7 separate regions of the Homo sapiens genome follow, and regions 1, 2, 3, 4, 6 and 7 are each linked to region 5. Evidence: promoter capture Hi-C in 16 types of primary human blood cells and fetal thymus (Javierre and others, 2016). All regions are on one chromosome and are shown on one strand. The core of a region is centred on a gene start or on the middle of the fragment in contact, and the rest is flanking DNA. Distances in the headings are between cores, read along the strand shown. Region 1 has its middle 6.7 kb from the start of HESX1. Region 2 overlaps SLMAP (sarcolemma associated protein). Region 3 overlaps SLMAP (sarcolemma associated protein). Region 4 holds the start of SPATA12 (spermatogenesis associated 12). Region 5 holds the start of PDE12 (phosphodiesterase 12). Region 6 overlaps IL17RD (interleukin 17 receptor D). Region 7 overlaps IL17RD (interleukin 17 receptor D).

Region 1 (3,204 bases), core at 83-2,582, 360 kb after region 5:
GTTATTTGGTCTCCTGTAATGGCATTTGTCTTTTGTGAAGCCAGCCAGACAAAGCCCATCACTAAAGAGTGCTGCTGGAAACAATGGCTGTGTGTGCTGGTGGTCAACTTTTGAGTTAATCAGTGTTCATAGCCGCTTTCACCTCCTGCATCTTATCACACATCACACGAATGGCATAAATCTCCCATTACCAAACCCAGCACAGAGCATCAACCTGGGCCTTGTTCCTCCCAGCAGAGAGCTGGGAACTGCTCAATTTTCTCAATATGGAACTCAACTCACATTCTGACAAAGGGTGACTTGCTATCTCCATTTCACTGAGCCCCATAGGAATAAAACCCCCTCCAAAGTTAGTCTTTGGATACCTTTCATGGTCATTTTGACTGTTCTGACTCCTGTTGGAACATCAGTCCACAGCACAAGGCAGCTCCTGGTGGCTCTCAACACTCTACACCCCATTAGACTCACTTCTTCTGCCTATGCTTTAATCTTGGATTTCACAGCCTCCAGAATTGTGAGAAATAAATTTCTGTTGTATATAAGCTGCCCAGTCTGTGGCATTTTTGTTATAGAAGCCCAAATGGACTAAGTGTCCACCATGAGCTATGCAATATGGTTCTTCACATGAATATTCCCATTTAATTTTCACAGTCACTCTGCAAAGTGAATATAGGCAATCCACTTTACAAATAAGAAAACCTAGCATCAGATATTTTTATTATGATGATGATTCTTTTTTTTGAGATGGAGTCTTACTCTGTTGCCCTGGCTGGAGTGCAGCGGCATGATCTCGGCTCACTGCAACCTCCACCCGCTGGGTTCAAGCGATTCTCCTGCCTCAGCCTCCCAAGTACCTGGAACTACAGGCGTGCGCTACCATACCCAGCTAATTTTTGTAGTTTTAGTAGAGACAGGGTTTCTCCATGTTGGCCAAGCTGGTCTCAAACTCCTGACCTCAAGAGATCTGCCTACCGCAGCCTACCAAAGTGCTGGGATTACAGGCATGAGCCACCACGCCGGGCCTTTATTATGATTATTATTACCCCATTTTACAGATGAGCTGATTGAAGGACACAGATTAAATGACTTGATCATGGCCACACAGCTGAAGCAGCTCAGCCAGAATTCAGACCAAGTTCTGCCTGACTCCAGAGTTGCCTCTTCCTCTTAAGCCTTCCAGTAGATGGAGTTACTGGCTGTGATGCTAATAGCTAGAAACATGTACTACATTTTTCTTTTCTTCCTCCCTTTCTTCCTTCCTTCCACTTTTTTTTTTTGGCAGGGTTGGGTGGGAGTAGGGGGATGGGATTAAAAGTCTGAGTGTTTGATACCTAAAGTAATCAATAATTACTTAAGTCCCAATAATTTTTTGGAAATAATATTTTCTCTATATATAAATGGCATTTTGTCTAGATAATATGTACATCCTTACCTGTATAAATATTAAGCCTCATTAAGATTTTTTTTTTTTTGTATTTTAAACCTTATTAAGATGTAACAACAATCACTAGATTTAAGTCCTTTTTCCCTGAAATTGCCATCAGAAATTTGTGGAGGCCAGGCATGGTGGCTCACACCTGTAATCTCAGCACTTTGGGAGGCCAAGGCAGGATGATCGCTTGAGGCCAGAAGTTCAAGATCAGCCTGGGCAACATAGTGAGACCGAGGTCTACAAAAAATTAAAAAATTAGCCAGCCATGGTGGTTCACACCTGTAATCCCAGTACTTTGGGAGGCTAAGATGGGCAGATCACTTGAGGTCAGGAGTTTGAGACCAGCCTGGCCAACATGGTGAAACCCCGTGTCTACTAAAAATAGAAAAACTAGCTGGGCATGGTGGCAGGTGCCTGTAATCCCAGCTACTTGGGAGGCTGAGGCAGGAGAATCGCTTGAACCCATGAGGCAGAGGTTGCAGTGACCCAAGACCACCCCCCTGTACTCCAGCCTGGGCAACAGAGCGAGACTCTGTCTCAAAAAAATAAATAAATAAGCTAGGCATGGTGATGTGCACCTGCGGTCCCAGCTACTCAGGAAGCTGAGGTGGGAGGATTGCTTGAACTCAAAAGGTTGAGGCTGCAGTGAGCCATGATCATGTCACTGCACTCCAGCCTGGGTGACAGAGTGAAACCCTTTCTCAAAAAAAAAAAAAAAAAAAAAAATTTAGTAAAGATCTCAAATCAGCAATCTAACCTTTTACCTTAAGAACAACAAAAAAGAGAGCATAATAAATTCAGAATAATCAGAAGACAAAGATCAGAAAAACCATGGAGAAAAGTCAATGAAACCAAAAACTGATGCTTTACAAATCTTAATAAAATTAATAAACCTTTAGCCAGACTAACAAAGAAAAAAAGGAGAAGATACAAGTCACTGACATTAGGAATGAAAGAGGGGCTATAACTACAGACCACATCAACATTAAAAGAAGAATAAGATAATACTATGAACAACTCTATGCGCACATTTGATAGCTCAGAAGAAATAGATCAAATCTACAAACTACTAAAATCCACCCAAGAAGAAACAAATAACTATAACAGTTCTATACTTATTAAAGAAATGTGAAATAATAATTTTATACCTCTGAAAAGGTAAACTCCAGGCCCAGATGGTTTCACTGGCAAATTCTATCTAACATTGAAAGAGGAAGTAACATCAATTCTACACAATCTCTTTCAGAAGATACAAGAAGAAGATCACTTCTCTACTCATTTTATGAGACTTATATTACCCCGATACTAAATTAAAGACAGTAAAAGAAGGGAAGAAAAAAGCCCAAGTTCACTATCCCTCATTAACGAAGATGCAAAAATCCTCAACAAAATATTAGTAAATAAAATCCAGCAATACAAAAAAGAATAACACAGTATCACCAAGTGGGATTTACTTAGGGGATGACAAGCCTGGTTTAATATTTGAAAATCAATTAATGTTATCTACCATATTAATAGACTAAAGATGATAAATCACATTATTATACCAACTGACATTGAAAAGCATTCAATATCCATTGAAATGCAGTAGCCATTTATGATAAAAATTCTCATCAAACTAGGAATAGAAGGGAACTTTCTTAACATCTACAAAATATCTACAAAAAAAACCATAAAGCTAACATGATGTTTAATGGTGAAATACTAAATTCTTTCCCCCTAAGACTGGGAACAATGCAATATCCACCTTATCACTCCTATCCAATGTTGCC
Region 2 (3,130 bases), core at 122-2,621, 330 kb before region 5:
TCAATAAGATAAAAACAATAAATTAAAAAGGGAAATCAGTAATGCACAAAACTTTTCCAATAATGATAAAACATAATTTCAAGAAAATATTTTCTAATTTAGAATGCATTAAATATAAGTGATAAGATAGCAAGATATTTTAATTAAAGAAGCATTTTTTTTTTTTTTCCTAAGGCTCTACTTCAAAGTGCTGGCTATTCAACCAACTAATCTGAATAGGTATTTGGATGGTGAGGTAAAAGCTATTTTAAGGTCTGTTCTCATCTCACTTTAATAAGGTGAAAAAAATTGCCATATGTACTAAAAATAGTTCACTGTTCTGAAACTCAATGCCTGTTTGCCAAAACAATATTAATGATGCATATTCTATGCATTTTTTCCCCAAATATGGCATCTGCCGTGCACAAAATTCAGAATGGAAACCACGAGATATTTGAAATAACACCATCCTCTTACATGGTTAAAAAAGTCAAATGAATCCAGTTACTTTAATAAAATAGAATGTACTAAAATTAAGTATCTCAAACTTTTGTAACTCAATGTTTTAATTGGCCAAAAGGACTGTGAATCTAGTTTTAAATTTTATACTGGTATAGTCTAATGAAAGTTCTACTATGATAAACACATGCCACCAAATTTATTTGCCTAATTTCCCTATGTATAAAAGTGACTTGACAATATGGTGCTTTAAAACTCACTTTTCTTCTCTGACAACTGTAACAGAATTAACACAATAAACTACTTTGGGCAATTACTGGACTACTCATAAAATATAAGAAGATTCTACATTCACAAAAGTCATTAATTTTGTTTAAATCAAACTGAGATGCCAAAAATTAAGGAAATATTAAACATCATAAGAGATTTTAAAGGTACTGTAACCCCCAAAATAGAAGTGCAAGCATGTTTCACTTAAGTTGTATCACAAACGACTTACATTGTGTTTGATTAAAATTTGAGATCAAAGCTGAAATTAATGCTGGGAATGACAGAGATTGCAACAAATCTTTAATACCTAAAGAAACCTATATCAAGTACTAACATTCAAAAAACCATAAATATACATCCACTTAAAAAGACACATTCCAGTTACGATACCCTTCTTAAAACAGAAGTCTGATTATTTTATATATTATCTGATACTGTTACTGGCTTGCTATTTTGTGAGCTATAAGAAGTAAACTGATGGTTAAAATACTATAACCTTGAAAATATACACTAACCTTCATTATCCAAAAGAACTGTCAAAAAACATAGAAAAACAGAAAACAAACCTTTTGAAAGCTTTGTTTCTTCTACCGCTTTGGTTAGATGCCCTTCGACGATCAGCTTCTCTGCCAAGGAAAATAAACGTTACCATCCAAGCCCAAACTGAGCAGCATTTCCCTGAGCTGGGCAGTGTAACACATTCCATGACCAAATTTAAAGATGATAACATTACTCCTATGACCAAGCTTGAATAAAAACTTGAATCTGGAAGGGGAACTAAGAGAACTGGAACTATGACGGAGCAATCACGTTAATGCAGAAAACTAGGGGCAGGCAGACAATTTGCCTTTTATTTTCACCTTATTTTAAAAGCCTAGATATTTTTATAAAAAGGGCTCAGAAGAAATAAAGCAATCCTCTTTAGATCAAGGCTATTAAGTTAAAATAAAAGATTTATGAAAAGGTATTTATTCAAATGAAGAAGTAATAAAAATTAAGTTATATCGATAGTTTACTGTTCTCTGCTGACATAATTCAGCAGAGATGCCTATATAATGTATTTCAGTAAATGAATCATTTTAGAAAAGCTATTCAAAGAAATAAAAAAATTTTGTTTTGTTTTATGGGGGATTTTCTGTAAATGTATAATGCTACTTTTTTATAATTTAAAGTCATATTTTCATATTCCACGTTTCATTGAAGAGGATATATCTATTCTGTGTCCCCTTATTTACTCCTGTATGTCAGTTGGTCTCCTTCAATTTATTCATTTGTAATATATGTGAAGAAAATTTTCTATTCTCTTGCTTTACAACCAACTGCAACTTGGTCTACATCCACCACTCAACCATTGAAACTGCTCCAATATCATTATAGCCTCTAGTCTCCCAATGCCCATGGCTCCTTTTCTTAATTTTCATTTCTCATAGGCTCTTTGCAGTATGTGGCACTTTGTCTCTGACTTTTTAAAATCAGAAAGAGGGGCCGTGCGCAGTGGCTCACGCCTGTAATCCCAGCACTTTGGGAGGCCAAGGCGGGTGGATCACGAGGTCAGGAGACAGAGACCATCCTGGCTAACATGATGAAACCCTGTCTCTACTGGAAACACAAAAAATTAGCTGGGCATGGTGGCGGGTGCCTGTAGTCCCAGCTACTCGGGAGGCTGAGGCAGGAGAATGGTGTGAACCCAGGAGGCGGAGCTTGCAGTGAGCAGAGATGGCGCCACTGTATGACAGAGCGAGATTCCATCTCAAAAAAAAACAGAAAAAAAGAAAAAAAAACAGAAAGTAACAGATTTTGATTAAGATGTATAATGTAAGCTGTCCTACCTGTCCTCTGTCCTACTTCACTCCATTCCTAAAATTCACTTCCTACAACTTTTAGCCATTTCTTCTGATACTTACATTTATATTTCTAAATAATACATTGATTTTATTTTTCCATTTTAGATATTTATTGAGAATCTATTTTACACGGTTAAATTTTGCCATTTTCTACTACCATCCTCAAGAGTTGCATTTTGTCAATCTATAATCACTATTTTTTTTTTTTTGAGACAGTCTCACTCTGTCACCAGGCTGGAGTGCAGTGACACAATCTCAGCTCACTGCAACCTCTGCCTCCCGGGTTCAAATGATTCTCCTGCCTCGGCCTCCCAAGTAGCTGGGACTATGAGTGCGCACCACCACACCCAGCTAATTTTTGTATTTTTAGTAGAGACGGGGTTTCACCATGTTGGCCAGGATGATCTTGATCTCTTGACCTCCACCCGCCTCAGCCTCCCAAAGTGCTAGGATTACAGGCATGAGCCACTGCGCCTGGCCTATAATCAGTATTTATATTGAAAAATTATTTTATATAATGAGTCATATAGTATGCTATAATTATATTTCCTTTCTTGTATGGCCTTCGGTATACTCAG
Region 3 (3,374 bases), core at 582-3,081, 310 kb before region 5:
TATCATCACCATCAGTATAAGACAAAAACATGGAGGAAAAAGGTTGATAAAACTTGTGTTTTGGAGAGACCAATGCACTACATACCTAGAATACTATATAGTGATACAATATAGCCTCAAAAAGAAAAAAATACTAACAGCAACAGAAATTTGAAATTTAAAAAAAATCTAATAAATAAGAATTTGACAACTGGATCCAGGAAAAGCAAAACGGGAGCCCTCAGTATAATAGTAATTGCCAGGATAAAAAGTTGTTTTTCATAAATCCCATTTTAGCTATGGTAACACTTTAAAAACTCAAACTACATCATCATGTTATATATATATAAACTCATTTGGAATGATATTTTAACTTAACTAAAGGACTTTACAAAACATATTTGAAACATATTTCAGACTAATATCAAAGAACTTAAGATGACATTTATTAAAGAGGGACATCCTACCATTACTTACAAAGCTAACAATCACACTTTTATCTGAACTCTACATTAAAATATTTACTAAACTGGTTTAGATAAAATCTGATATTAATATAAAAAGATAGAGAACCACTCTACTTAAAATACATTTTATTTATATAAATGAGTTTCCTATGGATTTTTATTTATATACCTGTGTTATCTAATACTATAGCCATTAGCTACTGTAGTTACTAAACCCTTCAAATGTGGCTAGCTCTAATTGAGATGTCCTAAGCATAAAACAAATGTACAATGATTTCAATGAATTAGTAAGAAAACAGTGATATGAAATTTTATGAATAATTTATTAATCATTTTAATATTTATTAATATTGAAATATTTTGGATGCTGTAGGCAAAATAGATCATTAGAATTTGTTTTGTTTATATATATTATATATATATATATATATATATATATATAATAGAGATGGGATCTTGCTATGTTGTCTAGGATCAAGTGCAGTAGTTATTCACAGGTGTGATTGTAGTGCACTACAACCTCAAACTCCTGGCCTCAAGGGATCCTCCTACCTTAGCCTCCCAAGTAACTGGGACAACAGGCATGTACCACTGCACCCAGCTTTTTATATTTTTAATGTGTGTGGTGGTTAATACTGAGTGTCAACTTGAATGGATTAAAGGATACAAAGTATTAATCCTGGGTGTGTCTGTGAGGTTGTTGCCAAAGGAGATTAACATTTGAGTCAGTAGGCTGGGAAAGGCAGACCTACCCTTAATCTGGGTGGGCACAACCTAATCAGCTGCCAGTGCAGCTAGAATATAAGCAGTCAGAAAAATGTGAAAAGAGAGACTGGCCTAGCCTCCCAGCCTACATCTTTCTCCTGTGCTGGATGCTTCCTGTCCTCGAACATCAGACTCCAAGTTCTTCAGTTTTGGAACTCAGACTGGCTCTCCTTGCTCCTCAGCTTGCAGATGGCCTATGTGGGACCTTGTGATTGTGTGAGTTAATACTTAATAAACTCCCCTTTATATATATAATATATATAATATATATTATATATATAATACACATATAATATATATTATATATAATACACATATATAATATATATTATATATAATACACACATATATTATATATAATACACACATATAACATATATTATATTATATATAATACACACATATATAATATATATAATATATATTATATATAATACACACATATATAATATATATTTTTATATATAATACACATATATATATTTTATATATATATATATATATATATATATTCCATTAGTTCTGTCCCTCTAGAGAACCCTGACTAATACAATGTGGCTGCCAGAATTTTTTTAAATTAAGAGACAGGGTCTTACTCTGTTGTCCAGGCTGGAGTACAGTGGCACAATCATAGTTCATTGCAACCTTGAATTTCTGGGCTCAAGGGATCCTCCCTCCTCAGCCTCCCAACTACCTAGGACCACAGGTGTGTACTACCACACTTGGCTAATTTTTAAATTTTGTGTAGAGACAGAAGTCTCACTATGTTGCCCAGGCTGGTCTCAAACTAATGGCCTCAAGCAGTCTTCCCTGCTTAGCCTCCCAAAGTGCTGGGATTACAGGCACATGCCACCACACCTCACTAATTTAAAAAAAAAATTTTTTTTTTCTTTTTAGAGATGGGGTCTCACTATGTTGCCCAGGCTGGTTTCGAGCTTCTGGGCTCAAACAATCCTCCCTTGCTGGGATTACAGGAGCAAGCTACTTTGCCCAGCAGAAAATTTAAAATTATGTATGTGGCTCTCATTATGTTTATTTTTTATTTTTTTGAGATGGGGTCTCACTCTGTCACCCAGGCTGAGTACAGTGGTGTGATCATGACTCACTGCAGCCTTGACCTCCTGGGATCAAGTGATTCTCCCATCTAGCCTCCTGAGGAGCTGGGTCTACAGGTGCACACCACTATGCCCAGCTAATTTTTAATTTTTTTATAGAGATGGGTTCTCACTATGTTGCTCGGGCTGGTCTTGAACTCCTGGACACAAGCAATCCTTCCACCTTGGCCTCCCAAAGTGCTGGGATTATAGGTGTGAGCCACCACACCCAGCCTTATGTTTATTTCGGACAACACTGTCCTTTACTCTCTAAGATACATTCAGCTTATGCTTATTAGATAAGACACACAAAAAATTTACAGTACAAAACCTGTGCTTTTAGTAGCTACATTATATTTAATTTTTAAAATGGGATTCACTGAAAGTATTAGTATTATTAATTTTAACATCTTCAGATATTTAAAAATATTCTCTTACAACTATATTTGGCTCTCTACTATTTAAAGAATAATTTAGTTAAAATTATATAATATGGGTATGGACATTGGTAATACTGGGATACTTGAAAATTGGTTCATTATTATAAGTGATTTGGAATGGAATTAAGTGACGCATCTTATTCCAAAGTCCACCCTTAACTAAGTTTTCGTGTACATCTAGAAATTTATTGCTTAGTTTCTTTTAAAATATTCTATTAGTCACTATCATACCGTAACTCAATATATCACCACCAAAAAAGCAAGCACACAAATAAGGAAAAAATAATTATGGCAAGGAGTTACCTTTAAGTATCTAAAATATTTATTCTTAAAATCAAGGAGTCTTTAACAATTATATTAATACAATATGAAAACAGTCTACTATTATTTTCATCTGAACCAACTGGAACTGGAAAAAAATGAATCAGTAATTTTACAACTCTAAATAGTATAAAGATGGTTCCATGTACATAAAACGATTCTCTTAACTGAAGGAATGAATAGCAGGTTCCCAGCTTGGGTTAATACTAACATTATTAATATAAAATCAAGAGGGTGATGACTGATTGACTGTTTTGTTTTGTTTTGTTTTTTGAGACAAGAGTCTCACTCTGTTGCCCAGGTTGGGG
Region 4 (3,630 bases), core at 333-2,832, 500 kb after region 5:
GTGAGGACAGGCCCAGAGTGTGGAGCTGCGAGGGGAGGGTTGGGCACATTGCCTTTGGATCTAGTCACATGACTGAGCTGCTCCAGGGATCTTCCTACAAATCCCCCTTCTCACCCATCTAGATGGAGTTGGATTTCTCACTGCTAGCAGTGAGTCTAGACAGATCCAATCCAGTGGAGCATCCCTGCCCCACTCTCTTTTTTTACTTGATCCTTAGTCCAGAGCAAGGAAAGATGTGGAAACCCTCCCAAAGGCATTATTCAGGGCAGAAAATGCTTGTAGGCAGAGCAGCACCTTGTTTTTGTCACAACCGGAGAAACAATTTAAATCTGAACCTATGCGGGCTCAGATACTGATGCTGCCATCTGAGAAGGAGGACCTCTCTCACCTCAGGTTCTTTGTCTGTAAAATGGGGATGAAAATAATTATACCACACCTCAGGACTAAATGAGTTAATAAAAATTCTTAGAGTGGTGAGTAACACAGGATGAGAGACTGCTCACTGAGAGTTAGCTGTGGTGGCTGCCAGAATCCTAAAAGTGTAACAGGAGTTAAACATAGAGGTATCATATAGTCCAGCAATTCCAAATCTGGGTATATACCCAAAGAAATGAAAGCAGAGATCCAAACAGATACTTGCATTCCCATGTTCCCAGCAGCGTTATTCACAATAGCCAAAAGGTAAAAATAATACAAATGTCTATTGACAGATGAATGGATAAACAAAATGTGGTATGTACATACAATGGAATATTATTTAGCCTTAAAAAGGAAGGAATTTCTGGTTGAGTGAGATGGCTCACACCTGTAATGCTGGCACTTTGGGAGGCCAAGATAGGAGGATCTCTTGAGCCCAGGAGTTTGAGGCTGCAGTGAGTTATGATCGTGCCACTGTACTCCTGCCTGGATGACAGGGCCAGACCCCATTGCAAAAAAAAAAATAATAATAAATAAAGGAATTTTTGACACATGCTACAACATGCTGATCCATGAAAGTATTATGCTACATGAGAAAAGTCAGTCACAAAAGGACACTTACAGGGGGTACCTGGAATAGCAAGTTTAGAGAGAGAAGTATTAATACAGTAGGGGCTGGGAGAGGGGCAGGTGCAGGAGGAGTTACCGCTGAATGGGTACACAGTTTCTGTTTAGAATGACAACAAAGTTCTGGAAATGGATAATGGTAAGAGTTGTACAATATGGTGAATGTGCTAGATGTCACTGAACTGTACACTTAAAAATGGTTAAAGTGGTATGTTTTATATTATATTTTACCACAATAAAAAAGAGTATAAGAGGAGTTGGACTCTCCTGGACTTTTTCTTTATAGATTGAACTTATGTCAAAATGTAGCACAGTGAAAAAACAGGCACAGGCCAAAAAAGAAGTGGTGGTGGTGTGTGCCCATGTGTGTGTGTGTGTTTCGGGGTGGGGGTGGGGCGGCAGGTAAACTACTCACAAGACACCAGAGGCTCCTTTTGAGGTCTGATACTGCAGGCTGGGATCTGACGCTGCAGGATCAGGAAGAGTGGGGGAGATGAGGGGAAGGTGAGCCTGCACAAAGAATTTTCTCAGTGACTGTGGGCAGGGCAGTCAGGACCCTGGGTCACATGGGCCCAGCCCGGGACCAGAGCCTTTGTGAGTCACAGCTCAACTCCCAGCAAACAAAGGGATATGCCAGGGAGGGGCTGAGTTGTGACTCAGAGGCTGCTGCTGCTGTGAGCTTCCTCCAGGAACCCCATCCCTTCCAGTCCCTGATTCTGACTCCTACTGTGGGGGTGGGGACAGGTGTACCCACTTCCTGGGCAGGTTCTTGGAAGGGCTCTCCTGCAGAACCTAGACTTTTTTGCAGCTCCTTTTTGATAACCCGAGTAGCAGCAGCTATACCATTTAAGTGCTTGCTGCATACGGGCCCTGGGCTAAGTTCCTTTTTTTTTTTTTTTTGAGACAGAATCTCAGCTCTGTCGCCCAGGCTGGAGTGCCGTGGCACAATCACGGCTCCCTGCAGCCTTGACCTCCCAGGCTCAAGAGATCCTCCCACAGGGACTGTAGGTACATGTCACACACCCAGCTAATTTTAAAATTTTTTATAGAGATGGGGTCTCGCTATGTTGTCCAGTCAGCTCTTGAACTCCTAGGCTCAAGTGATCCTCCCGCCTTGGCCTCCCAAAGTGCTGGGATTACAGGTGTGAGCCACCATGCCTTGTCCCTCACTTCATCTATTTATTTTTATTTTTATTTTTATTTTTGAGATAGAGTTTCACTCTTGTTGCCCAGGCTGGAGTGCAATGGCGTGATCTCCGCTGACTGCAACCTCTGCTTCCCAGGTTCAAGCGATTCTCCTGCCTCAGCCTCCCGAGTAGCTGGGATTACAGGCATGTGCCACCATGCCTGGCTACTTTTGTATTTTTAGTAGAGATGGGGTTTCTCCATGTTTGTCAGGCTGGTCTTGAACTCTGGACCTTAGGTGATCTGCCCAACTTGGCCTCCCAAAGTGCTGTGATTACAGGCGTGAGCCACCATACCCAGCCCCTCTTCGTCTTTTTAAAGCCTCATTGTCACCCCATCAGGCAGTCATTTCAGTCCTACTTTGCAGAAGAGGAAATGTGCTTATGGAGGGAAGCAACTTGCCTGAGGCTATGTGGGTGGCAGATAGCAGAGCCAGATTTGAACCTATCACTGATTAAGGAGCCTGGACTTGTAATCATGCTGCTCACCACCCTCCCTCCCCCCACCCCCAACTCATACACACACGGGGAAGAACAGACTCCAAAATGTGACTTATCTTTAGGCCAAGCTTGTCTAACATGTGGCCCAATACAAATTCATAAACTTTTAAAAAACATTATGAGTTTTTTTTTTAGTTCATCAGCTATTGTTAGTGTTAGTGTATTTTATGTGTGGCCCAAGACAATTCTTCTTCCAGTGTGTCCCAGAGAAGCCAAAAAATTGGACACCCTTGCTCTAGGCTTAAAGACAAGGCTTAAAATTTTTTCCCTGTGCTTATGAAAAAATTTAGAAAATACAAGTAATGAATATATTTTATAGTAAAAAAAGGCATAGTTAAGTATGATTGCATGTCAGCATTTCTTTTTTTTATTATTATTATACTTTAAGTTTTAGGGTACATGTGCACAACGTGCAGGTTTGTTACATATCTATACATGTGCCATGTTGGCGTGCTGCACCCATTAACTCATCATTTACATTAGGTATATCTCCTAATGCTATCCCTCCCCCCTCCCCCCACCCCACAACAGTCCCTGGTGTGTGATGTTCCCCTTCTTACGTCCATGTGTTCTCATTGTTCAATTCCCACCTATGAGTGAGAACATGCGGTGTTTGGTTTCTTGTCCTTGCGATAGTTTGCTGAGAATGATAGTTTCCAGCTTCATCCATGTCCCTACAAAGGACATGAACTCATCATTTTTTATGGCTGCATAGTATTCCATGGTGTATATGTGCCACATTTTCTTAATCCAGTCTATCATTGTTGGACATTGGGTTGGTTCCAAGTCTTTGCTATTGTGAATAGTGCCGCAATAAACATACGTGTGCATGTGTCTTTATAGCAGCATGATTTATAATCCTTTGGGTATATACCCAGTAGTGGGATGGCTGGGTCAAATG
Region 5 (3,191 bases), core at 551-3,050:
TTTATGGAGCACTTCAAAACACACCACGCTCTTAAATTTTAAGTACTTTAAAATGTGCCAGAACAGTGCTTGGCAAGTAGTAAAAAACATTAGCTACTATTGTTCTTGCATTTAGCGTGTGTCCCTCTCGCTAGATTGTAAGCACTGTAAAAGTCCCTGCTAGTCTTGTTCAAGGCAACCTGCAGTATGGCAGGCACACCAGAGGTGTTCAAAAAATATCTGCTGAATGAATGAAGAGTAAACTTTGTGCTGAAGATACAAGGGCAAACACACCTTTCAACAATATCTGGATACTTTCATCGCACTTTTAACCCCCACCTCATTCCTCGCCTTCCTGGCCCCTAAAAGTGGGACAGTATGTGAAGAGACGGGCGGAACTACTTTACCTGAAGAACAGAAGATCTCTGGAGCACCTTCTCCTGCGCTGATGGGTACAAAACTAGTTTCTCCAGCAGTTCTTTGTGAAGTGGGTCGGACTCGAGGGCTTCGTAGAATGAAATGTCATGCTGGCTAAGAAGGCTGAACTTAGACTTTCGGTAGAAAGTGGCCAGGCCTTCGTGCTGCTTGATTCGAAACACCCCCTCGAGCCCGAAGGCCTCTAGGGCGGGTACCAAGCTGTCAGAAAACACTGCGCGGTCAACCTCCTGCAAACAGATGACATCGGCGTTGTAGCCGGTGAGTTCCTTCTGGATAAGGTTCTGGCGGTAGTCGAGCTCCAGGGCGTAGGGGGCACAGTATGGGTACAGAACCGTTCGCGAGAACTCAGTCTGCGCGTACGTGTCTGCCAGGATGTTGTAAGAGACAGTGCGGATGAGAGCGTCCTCAGTCACCTTCTTCGTGTAGAGATGCCGGTGGTCAAAAGTGCAGGTGCCAGGCCCAGCCTCTACCACACACACACTTTCCAACTCCCGGCTGTGCCCAAAGCGCTGCCCATCGCCTGGGGTGCAGTGAAGCTTGAGCCTTAGCCCGATGTCGGCATTGGACGGGGTGTAGACACGCTCCTCCACATCAGTCTCAGTCCAAGAAGAAGAAGGTGAGGAGGGAGACAATGACGAGGGGACACCGACCTCGGGCTCCGCCGCTCCGGGCTTGGCTTCCTTATACCAGCGGAAAAGGGAGCTGGCGGGATCCCCAAATTCGAGGCTGAGTTTGGGGCACACAGGGAACCCGGCCATGATGTAGCGCGGCAACTGCAGTTCGGTGAAGGCGGGCGGGTTGCGCTCCACCTTGTACTTAACATCGCCGATCTGCAGCACCGCGCCGTCTTGCCAGGCATCCACGTTGAGCACGTCCTCAGCCACTGCCTCTTCCCGGTAGTACAGCTTCACCACGGGCTCGCAGAACACAGCCGGCTCAGGCCCCGGCCCTGAACAGGCCGCACCGCCGCTAGCATTCGGCCGGCTCTTCCTGCTCTTCTTGGCGGCGGCCGCCTTAGCGTGACCCTTTAGGGCATTGGTAGCGATGCGGCTGAGGACTCGACCCAGCGGCTCGCTCTGGTCGCGCTGCATGTTCTTGTGGCTACCATCAGCCAAAGCGAATGACAGGCTCAGCTTGGGTTCCGAAGGTACGCAGCGCACTACAGCGCGCTCCATCGCTCCCGCCGCTGTCTGGCTCCCCGCTTCAGCCCGGCTCAGCTTCTCCACCGCCGTCCGGATCACCCGAAGCGCGGCGCGGGCGCCTGGGAGCCTCCACATGAACCTGGTGGCCTAGCGGTCGACAAGACCCGCGGCCGATCAGCGGCCTACTGTCAGGTGGAGCTGAGGAGCCGAGGCCGCCGGCTTTGACTCATTCAGATCTCGCGACTTCCGGCTAGCGAAGAGAGGGAATGAAGTGCTTCCGACTCGCACTTTCGCCTAGCGCGTGGGCACGCATGTCTGTAATACTCTGAAGATTAATTTTTACCTACACGATAGGTCAGAATTATAGGGAAGTGAAGAAAATATAAAGGTGTCAGAGGAAAATACTAGATTCCACGGTTTTGTCGAAAGTGCATGCTGGTGACGGGAGGGCATGCCCTCCAAGCCGGAAGTGGATAGGGTGGTGTCACGTGTTCCGCTTCGTTGGAGGAGGTGGACACCTGTCTTGGAATCTTGGCTGACCAGCTCTCCTCCCTGCGCCCGGGACTGGACTGCGCTAGGACGTGGAGGCCTCCACCCGGATTGCGAGCTTTACTCGCAGTGTGGAAGGTGTTGCCCATTTCATCTCCACAGCTTTGCCGACCCTGATCGCTCGTTTCGGTGGCCTGGTGGGTTCACCCCAGGCTGAGCCAGCGCCTACGCACCTCTGAGCAGAGCCTTTGTGGTAGTTAACAACGAACGATATACAATAACTCCGTTTAGTGAGCGCAGACTATGCGAGAAACGCTACACACACTATCTTATTTAAGCCTCATAGTTCTTATGAGGTAGGTCTCTTTATCCATCGCTTTACAGATGCAGAGTCCCGAGATATTACCTGCTCAGGGTCACACAACTATTAATTGGCAGAAAGAAATAGTACTGACAAACTGCGGAAGGCTGTTTGTTATTTTTTATTAGAGACAGGTTGTCACTTTGACGCCCAAGCTGGAGTGCAGTGGCCTGATCATAGCTCACTGCCCCCTCGAACTCCAGGGCTCGTGCGATCCTCCCGCCTAACCCTCTCAAGTACAAACAGGCAAGAGCCACCCAGTGTTTATTTTTAGTTAGTAAATAGGAAGACTCTATTTAGTTACTACATTTAACAAATAAAATTACAGGATCTCAGTTAAATTCAATTTCAGATAAGGAATAATAATGGGGCATATATTAAGAAATAGTTGTTTATCTGTTTATTTTATTTTTTTATTTTTTAGGTAGGGCCTTGCTCTTTCACCCAAGCTGGAGTGCAGCTGTGCGATCTTGGCTTACTGCAACTTCGGCTTCCAGAGTTCAAGCGATTCTCGTGCCTCAGCCTCCCAAGTAGCTGGGACTACAGGCACACACCACCACGCCCAGCTAATTTTTGTATTTTAGTAGAGAAGGGCTTCACCATGTTTCCTGGGCTGGTCGCGAACTCCTGGCCTCAAGCAAGCCCCCCGCCTTACCCTCCCAAAATTCTGGGATAACAAGTGAAAACCACCTCCCCTGGCCTAAGGAATCGTGCACTTTATTGCTATTTCTTTTAAAGGTCTTAAAGACGCCGGGCCCAGTGGCTCACGTCTGTAATCCCAG
Region 6 (3,579 bases), core at 280-2,779, 470 kb after region 5:
ACACTTGGTGCTTATTCCTGATGTATACTCTGAGACCAGCTCTTACCTTCTGAGTGGCAGCTACCCCTCCCTCCCAATTTTAGATCCTATTTTTACACATCTCTATAGATATCACCTTTATTTCATGACTCACAATATTAAATGGTACAGACTTCAGTTTAACCACTGGTGTGGTAACAGCAGTAGTTGCTAAGTACCACCTTCCCATTGCTGTTTGAGGGCTAATTTGCAAAGACATTTGAATCTCCCAGTGAAGATGTCTGGGGAATTTTGGCCAGTTGTCTTCCCTCTTGCCCTTTTGTTCTTTAAAATTCAGCTTGGACCATAGACACCTCCAGGATCTTGTTTATGTTCTGCTCTCAATTGACCAAGCACTGCGTTTTGCACAATCAGAAGTCTCACAAAAGCAAACAGTTATGACTGCATATCTGATGTTTATATCCTATAAAATTTCAGGAAGATTCAGAGTCAATCTTCTATTTGTACATGATGTAGACAAAATTAGCTGCTCCAATTGTTAGACAAAAAATTGCCATTGGATTACACTAATGTGCTCATCTGTTGTTTTAAAAGTTTGGTATCAGGCGGGGCACGGTGGCTCACGCCTGTAATCCCAGCATTTTGGGAGGCCAAGGTGGGCGGATCACCTGAGGTCCAGAGTTCAAGACCAGCCTGACCAACATGGTGAAACCCTGTCTCTACTAAAAATACAAAATTAATCAGGCGTGGTTGTGTGTGCCTGTAATCCCAGCTACTCGAGAGGCTGAGGCAGGAGAATCGCTTGAATCCGGGAGGCAGAGGTTGCAGTGAGCTGAGATCACGCCATTGCACTCTAGCCTGGGCAACAAGAGCGAAACTCCGTCTCAACAACAACAACAAAAAGTTTGGTATGTTTCTCTCAAGAAAAAAGCATGGTGAGTCCAGACAGCAGCAAAAGCTTTTGTGAAAACCAATTGTGTTCATCTAGATAGTAAGTAACTCCTATTTTTACTGTTAATTTTTTAAAAGAGAATTTTTCCCTGTGGAAACTCCCTGTTAGTACGTCCTAGGGGAGAAAGCCTGTGGAATATGGTGGTTATTGATGGCGTTGCCTTTGTTTCATCTTTGAGTTTGCCCTTTGTGGGATCTAGTGGGATAATGAGCACTGACAGAACTCTTAACAGCGTGCTGTATTTTTGACATTGAAAATGTTAATGACTTGATTTGTACATAACTCTGTAACTAGGTGAAAGTAGATCACAGCTGACATTTACAAAATGTTTTTGTACCTTAGAATTTCTGCATTAAATAAAATGTTTTGTTTTAAGGTTGTAGTGGCTCATTTTTCAGCACATCTTTCTTGTTTCCTGACTGTCTGGGGTTCCCAGCCCAGTTTTCAGAGGGCTCTGCCTCAGGACGAGGAGGCCAGGGGTGGCCAGTCTTCCTTGCCCTTTAGAGAACAGGACCCTGCTGCCCTAGACCTTCAGCTCGGCTCCACAGGCAATCAGTCGCCCATTACCCGTGTGGCATCAGGAGGCTTCCCTGTTGCAACAGGGTTACTTATGTCAGAAAGAAATTTGACTTCTCAGAACAAATGGACTTTCTTTTTAGAAATTTGAAAAAAGCCACTGAGATTTGGGGGCTGCACGCAAATTTTTTTTGTCACTCAGAAAAAGAGATGCCTGCTCAGTCTTCCATGGACATCCTCCCCTCCTGTGACCCCCATGCTCTGTGAGTTAACTTCTTGGTGTCCATCACCTTCAGGGTCAGGTCCCAGCTCTGCTGAATTTTTTTTTTTTTTTTTTAAAGAGGTAGGCTCTCCCTAATTTGCCCAGGCTGCTCTTGAGCTCCTGAGCTCAGGCGATCCTCCCGTCTCAGTCTCCCAAAGTGCTGGGACTACAGGTGTGAGCCACTATGCCTGGCCTCTGCTACTGTTGCTGTGCCCCAGTGACTGTCAGACTCTGCCCCTCAGCCTCTCACCCGTAAAGAGGTCCTACTTTAGAGGGCAGTGAATTAAACTGCATGGTGAATGTAAAGTGCCACCTGCGCATTCCTGGCTCATAGTCCATGCTCAGTAAATGACAGTGTCCACAGGAGAACAGTGAGGGTTAACAAATAGCAAGGACATAGAATACAAGCTTTTGACCATTGCCCGAGCAGGATATAGTCTAAGTTTGGGGTCTTGGGACCATAATAGATTTTAAAAACTGGATCTTCCTTATTTACTTGTTCCTTCTCATACTTCACTGGGATGTTAATGTGCTCAGGGCCTACAACCTACTCTGGGGAACCCAAGGAAAACAGAAGGAGTGGTAAAAAACAAAACCCCCTCAAAGAAAACAGCTCTGAGGGAAGCACTGTTGTTTCTGAGAGGAGGAAATTCTCACACATTCTTGCCTCCTGACCTTCGCATAGCCTTCGTTTCTCCTGGGTAGAGTCACCCAGGAGGCTCCTTGTCATTTCTCCCATTGATTTCCTTTTCCCCCACACTCTGTCAATTCTTTTTAGTTCCAGGAGTGCTAAGTGCTTTACACACATCATCTCATTCATCTTCACGGCTGCTCTGTGAGGTGGCCAATCGTACTGTTCCCATTATACAGATGAGGAAACTGAGGCTCAGAGAGGCTATAACTGACTTGTGATCCCATAGCTGGCTAGTGGCAGAGCCAGGATATGAGCTGAGGCAAACCCTACCTAGACTGCTCAGGTAACCCCTTGGTAAAGGTCAAGCCAGCCAGGTAGGGATGGACTCAAAAATGTGTGGTCAAAGGCAATAGAGAGCTTTCCCGTAAAATGAGTGGCAGAGAGGAAGTGATGATTGCCAACCTCTGAATGTCAGTAGGGCTGGTTCCTGCTCTTAGTGCTCTTCATGTTTTTTCTCACCATGACCCCCTATGGGGGGTACTATCAGCAGCCTCAATTTTGAGATTCTGATGTCTAGAAATTCTATAGCTTTGCCAAGGGCACAAACAAGAAATTGGCAGCACTGGAGTTGAAGTCTGATTGAAGCATCACCACTCCTGATCAATAGGCTGCTCTGTCCCTCAGTAACAGTTTAAGCGGAAGGAAGAATCTTGAGTGACTTGGTTCCTTTCTCTTGCAAATTCTGAGTGTAAATCTGGTTCAGAGTTGAAGCAAATGGATCTCGTTAGGCAGATACTGCAATACATGAATTTCTCTTTCCTTTTCTTTCATTAAAATAAAAGTTACAGCTGGGCTTGGCAGTGCGCACCTATAGACTCACCTACTTAGCAGGCTGAGGCCTCAAAAAGTACAAATAGTTCAGGCATGGTGACTTACACCTGTAATCTCAGCACTTTGGGAGGCCAAGACAGGAGAATCACTTCAGACCAGAAGTCTAAGACCAGCCTGGGCAACATAGCAAGACCCCATCTTTACAAAAAAATTTAAAAATTAGCTGGGCATGGTGGTGTGTGCTAGTAGTCCTAGGTATTCAGGAGGCTGAGGTGAAAGGATCACTTGAGCCCAGGAGTTTGAGGCTGCAGTGAACTATATGATCACACCACTTCACTGCAGCCTGGGCAACAGAGCAAGATCCTGTCTCAAAAAATTTTAAGTTAAAATTAAAAAGTTAAAAAA
Region 7 (3,521 bases), core at 388-2,887, 400 kb after region 5:
TCCAAGTGACACCCTGGGCCTTCCAGTATCAGAATTGCCTCAGGAGCTTGTTAAAATGCAGATTGAAAGCTAATGGGATCAGAGTGAGAGTGAGGTGGAGCCCAGGAATTGGCATTTTAACAAATTCTTTTGAGGATACGCATGCTGTAACCAGGATGAGACCTATTGTTTTAGGGGACAGGGGTCCCACAATCCAAAGAAGGGGAGAACACACATTCTAAACATTTAAAATCAGAGTTTGGCTTTAAATTATGTCACTGGCCTTAGAGAAGAATGTGAAGACTTTCTCAGAGCCCTGACCGATAAAAGGGGTCAGGCTGGGTGGGGAGTGTGAGGATGGGAGGAGCAGGGAAGCGGGGCGGGGGAGAAGCTAGTTTGGATGGGTGCCTCTGGCCTGGGGCAGATGAGGAGGCCTGGAGTGAAGAGGACTTGACACTTCCCCTGAGTTCCTCCCTAGAACAGCTGGGTTTGTCTGAAAACAGTCTCAGGAAGGAGTAGCACAGGATCCAAATCAGATTCTCAGCAGTTCAAATCTTACAACTTCCCAACAAAGGAAAGAACTGCTAGTGCTTTTAAGTATTTTTCATGCTTCATTTGGCCTAAAACATGTTTTTTTTTTCTTTTTTAAAGCTTTCAAGGCTTTTTCTTCCTCTGTCCCTGAACTTTTTATATACTGTGCCCCAGCAGGTGTCTGCTCCTGCTGGGGCTACCCCATCAACAATTTTATTGTCCTCCTTCATTCCCCGCTGCCTCTTTTTTTGAGACGGAGTTTCGCTCTGGAGCCCAGGCTGGAGTGCATTGGCATGATCTCAGCTCACTGCAATCTCCGCCTCCCAGGTTTAAGCGATTCTCCTGCCTCAGCCTCCCGAGTAGTTGGGATTACAGGCGTCCACCACCACACCCAGCTAATTTTTGTATTTTTAGTAGAGACAGGGTTTCACCATGTTGGCCAGGCTGGTCTCGAACTCCTGATCTCAGATGATCTGTCCACCTTGGCCTCCCAAAGTGCTGGGATTACAGGCGTGAGCCACCGTGCCTGGCCCCCCACTGCCTCTTCAGCCTGCTTCTGATGGATGGGTTTTTAGGCTTCTAGAACTTGAGCCTCCACCCTTGATTTGTAAGAATGTGGGGTGAGGAGAGGGCTCAGCTATCAGGGAGCTTGACAGGTTGAGAGGTGCAGTGGCCTTAGAGCAGACCTCTCTCTGGCCACCCTGCCCTGGCAGCCAGACCTTTTCCATTTCCCATCTACTCCCAAATTTGGAGAGCTCCTGCCCTCAGTCAGCCGGGGGGCTGTCTGTGCTGGAGCTACAGGCCCCATCTCCAGCCAGCCAGACTTGCCCAGCCAGTGGGAGGCATTGTCCTCCTGGGCAGTGTTTGTCTTGGCTGCTTGGATGTTCTGAATGGGCCTGACACACGATTAGGTGACTGATGGCCTCCGAAACACATTGTCTCCTCCGGGGCCCACAGCCTTTGAAGCTCTTCCCGGTGGGAAGTAAAGAGACTATTTGCTCTATTAAAATGCCTTGGTATTTCCTCTGTTTAACCACAGGCCACTTCCCCTCTGCCACTCTAAACCCGGCAGGGCCACCGGCTGATTGAAAAGACACAAGCCCTCAAGTGATCACATCCTATTGAAACAGATAGTCTTACTGCAGATTAAAGCTAGGGCCAGTCTTGAAGAAACAAATCCAAGGGGGGAATCTTTGAGATGGCCCATTATCTTGCTCAGAATTTAGTCTGTTGAACAGAATTCACACTTGAAGTCCTGAGTGCATAAATGTAAATGTGTCTTTAAAAAAAAAAAAAAAGAAGAGATATCGACATTGTAAATTAAGTCAGTGTGTGTTTTATCTATATATGGCAGGTTAAAGCAATCCAATCAACAATTTCTCATTGTGTGAGTTGGAAACCCTTTGGTGTCTGGGAAGGGCATGTTGTCTGTTCATAGAAAACCACACCCTGCTGCTTTCTCTATTTGCAGATTCTACCTGTTCAGTCATATGCTGAAAAGTCCAAGTAAGAAAGAAGTCTGTAGCTTAAATAATACCAAGAATATCTCTGGGGAGACTCCTTCATCCTTTCCCAAACAATATATTAAAAGAAGGCTTTTAATTAATAACACCAGGCAGGAAACTAAAAATTGAACAATTTAAAAAATTACCTACATAACAAAAACTCCATTTGTACCATGTTTTTGTGAAGTGGCCTAAAAAACGAATAACTAGTTTCTAATAGAGACTGTTAACATTGATGTTTGCAACTCCATTGTTCAAAGTATCCATGATAAAAATGGATTCCCTTTTCTTTGGTTCCTTGTTTGGAAATGTTGGGGGAAGGTGGATGTAGCTAATTAAGGCTACAACATTTAAAGGGGGGGACTTAATAGGTACCAGCTGTCCTCAACAAATCACTGGGTGGACGACAAAATAAAGATGTGATGTGAACACACATGTAATTCTCTTCTAAAACGGAAATGGGCTCATAAATTTTCTGATTTAATAGTGTAAATGAAAACTACCTCTACTGTGCTTATTTAAGAAGCATTCATTTTATGGTAAAACTAATGCTAAAATGTCTTATTTGCATATGGCTGGTACCTTAAGACTTGAAAGGGCAGTAGATGGCAAGTATTATTGGAAGCTTAGTAAATTGTAATTTTATTGTACCTTTCTTCATTCCATACCTGATCTAATAGACGTTAATCATGAGGCTTTTCATTAAAACTACTACATGGTAGGGAAGCATGCTTGAACGTACCAGAAAAGCCATATAAAATTCAAGTATCAACTTTGAAAACGGAATGGAAATTGGTAGCATTAATTAAAATGTTTGGATGGATATTTACATTTCACACATTAAATGAATACTTCATATGAATCCTTTTGAAATCATGAGGGATTAGGCCTTAAATACAACTTTTTTTCAGATGTAAAAAGTACTTTATTGCCTTCAAAACTAGGAGTTTTTCCAAGTGTTCTGTTTGGTCATTTTTGTAGATCTTTTCCCCCCATTGAATAGTAACCCTTTAAAAAATGCTGGCAGTGTCCCCAGACTTCTGTGCTGCGATGGACTGTTTTACTCGAGAGTGGGAGGGTTAATGGGATAAAGGGAGGGCTTCCTTGGAACGAAGAGGTGTGTTTTCCTGAGATAGGCCATATGGTTTAGAAACCCTTTCCCTGTGATTTTATTCTGTCCGGGTGATTTCTGGTTTCTTCTCTCCCAAAACGGCCCCCTTTTATCTGAGGAAAATGCAGTGCAGTATGGACCAAATGTAGCAGCAGTCCGCCGCCTGAGCGTGGTCTCTGTTGAGTGACGGTTTATGGCCCCTTCCTCTGGAGTGTGCACATTTGCTCTGGGTGCAGCACAGGCACTCACACGGTTAGGATTTATTGTAACTGTTCAGTATCTGAAGCTCAAAAAGACTTATTTGGAGTGAGGAGGCAGGAGACCCTTTTTTTGAGCAGCCACCCTGTGTTAGGTTGTGGGACCAGTCCCCCGTCCACAGTGGCTGCCTGTCTGGG

What was found. The method cuts DNA at HindIII sites, captures the fragments that hold promoters and counts their contacts. A CHiCAGO score of 5 or more calls a contact.
Region 1: a fragment that was not itself captured here is called in contact with the fragment with the promoter of PDE12 in region 5 in 1 of 17 cell types (M1 macrophages); the score reaches 5.5 in M1 macrophages.
Region 2: a contact is called between a fragment that was not itself captured here and the fragment with the promoter of PDE12 in region 5, in 2 of 17 cell types (M1 macrophages and naive CD4 T cells). The highest score is 5.7, in M1 macrophages.
Region 3: a fragment that was not itself captured here is called in contact with the fragment with the promoter of PDE12 in region 5 in 1 of 17 cell types (neutrophils); the score reaches 5.5 in neutrophils.
Region 4: the fragment with the promoter of SPATA12 here is called in contact with the fragment with the promoter of PDE12 in region 5 in 2 of 17 cell types (endothelial precursors and M1 macrophages); the score reaches 5.7 in endothelial precursors.
Region 6: a contact is called between a fragment that was not itself captured here and the fragment with the promoter of PDE12 in region 5, in 1 of 17 cell types (endothelial precursors). The highest score is 5.7, in endothelial precursors.
Region 7: a contact is called between a fragment that was not itself captured here and the fragment with the promoter of PDE12 in region 5, in 2 of 17 cell types (endothelial precursors and megakaryocytes). The highest score is 5.4, in endothelial precursors.

What each region holds. Positions count from the first base shown.
Region 1 is chr3:57,191,666-57,194,869 of GRCh38, reverse strand. No RefSeq gene overlaps it. Among named protein-coding and RNA genes, the nearest start is that of HESX1, 6.7 kb to the left of the region's middle. The HindIII fragment of the contact is 5,377 bases long and covers 1-3,204 here.
Region 2 is chr3:57,888,245-57,891,374 of GRCh38, reverse strand. It overlaps SLMAP (sarcolemma associated protein), which reads right to left. Exons shown (of 25, transcript NM_001377540.1): 15 at 1,275-1,334. Among named protein-coding and RNA genes, the nearest start is that of FLNB, 120 kb to the left of the region's middle. The HindIII fragment of the contact is 170 bases long and covers 1,287-1,456 here.
Region 3 is chr3:57,867,145-57,870,518 of GRCh38, reverse strand. The region is part of intron 13 of SLMAP (sarcolemma associated protein); the gene reads right to left. Among named protein-coding and RNA genes, the nearest start is that of SLMAP, 110 kb to the right of the region's middle. The HindIII fragment of the contact is 6,509 bases long and covers 1-3,374 here.
Region 4 is chr3:57,058,616-57,062,245 of GRCh38, reverse strand. It overlaps SPATA12 (spermatogenesis associated 12), which reads right to left and starts at 1,582. Exons shown (of 2, transcript NM_181727.2): 1 at 1,460-1,582. It also overlaps a transcript of ARHGEF3 not described here. The HindIII fragment of the contact is 10,199 bases long and covers 1-2,799 here.
Region 5 is chr3:57,554,883-57,558,073 of GRCh38, reverse strand. PDE12 (phosphodiesterase 12) reads right to left here and starts at 1,800. Exons shown (of 3, transcript NM_177966.7): 1 at 387-1,800. The coding sequence starts at 1,694. It also overlaps a transcript of DNAH12 not described here. RefSeq lists enhancers at 867-1,036, 1,527-2,306. The HindIII fragment of the contact is 2,707 bases long and covers 956-3,191 here.
Region 6 is chr3:57,087,709-57,091,287 of GRCh38, reverse strand. IL17RD (interleukin 17 receptor D) reads left to right here. Exons shown (of 13, transcript NM_017563.5): 13 at 1-1,306. Among named protein-coding and RNA genes, the nearest start is that of SPATA12, 29 kb to the right of the region's middle. The HindIII fragment of the contact is 1,180 bases long and covers 940-2,119 here.
Region 7 is chr3:57,157,411-57,160,931 of GRCh38, reverse strand. The region is part of intron 1 of IL17RD (interleukin 17 receptor D); the gene reads left to right. Among named protein-coding and RNA genes, the nearest start is that of IL17RD, 6.2 kb to the left of the region's middle. RefSeq lists enhancers at 644-1,327, 1,328-2,013. The HindIII fragment of the contact is 2,010 bases long and covers 633-2,642 here.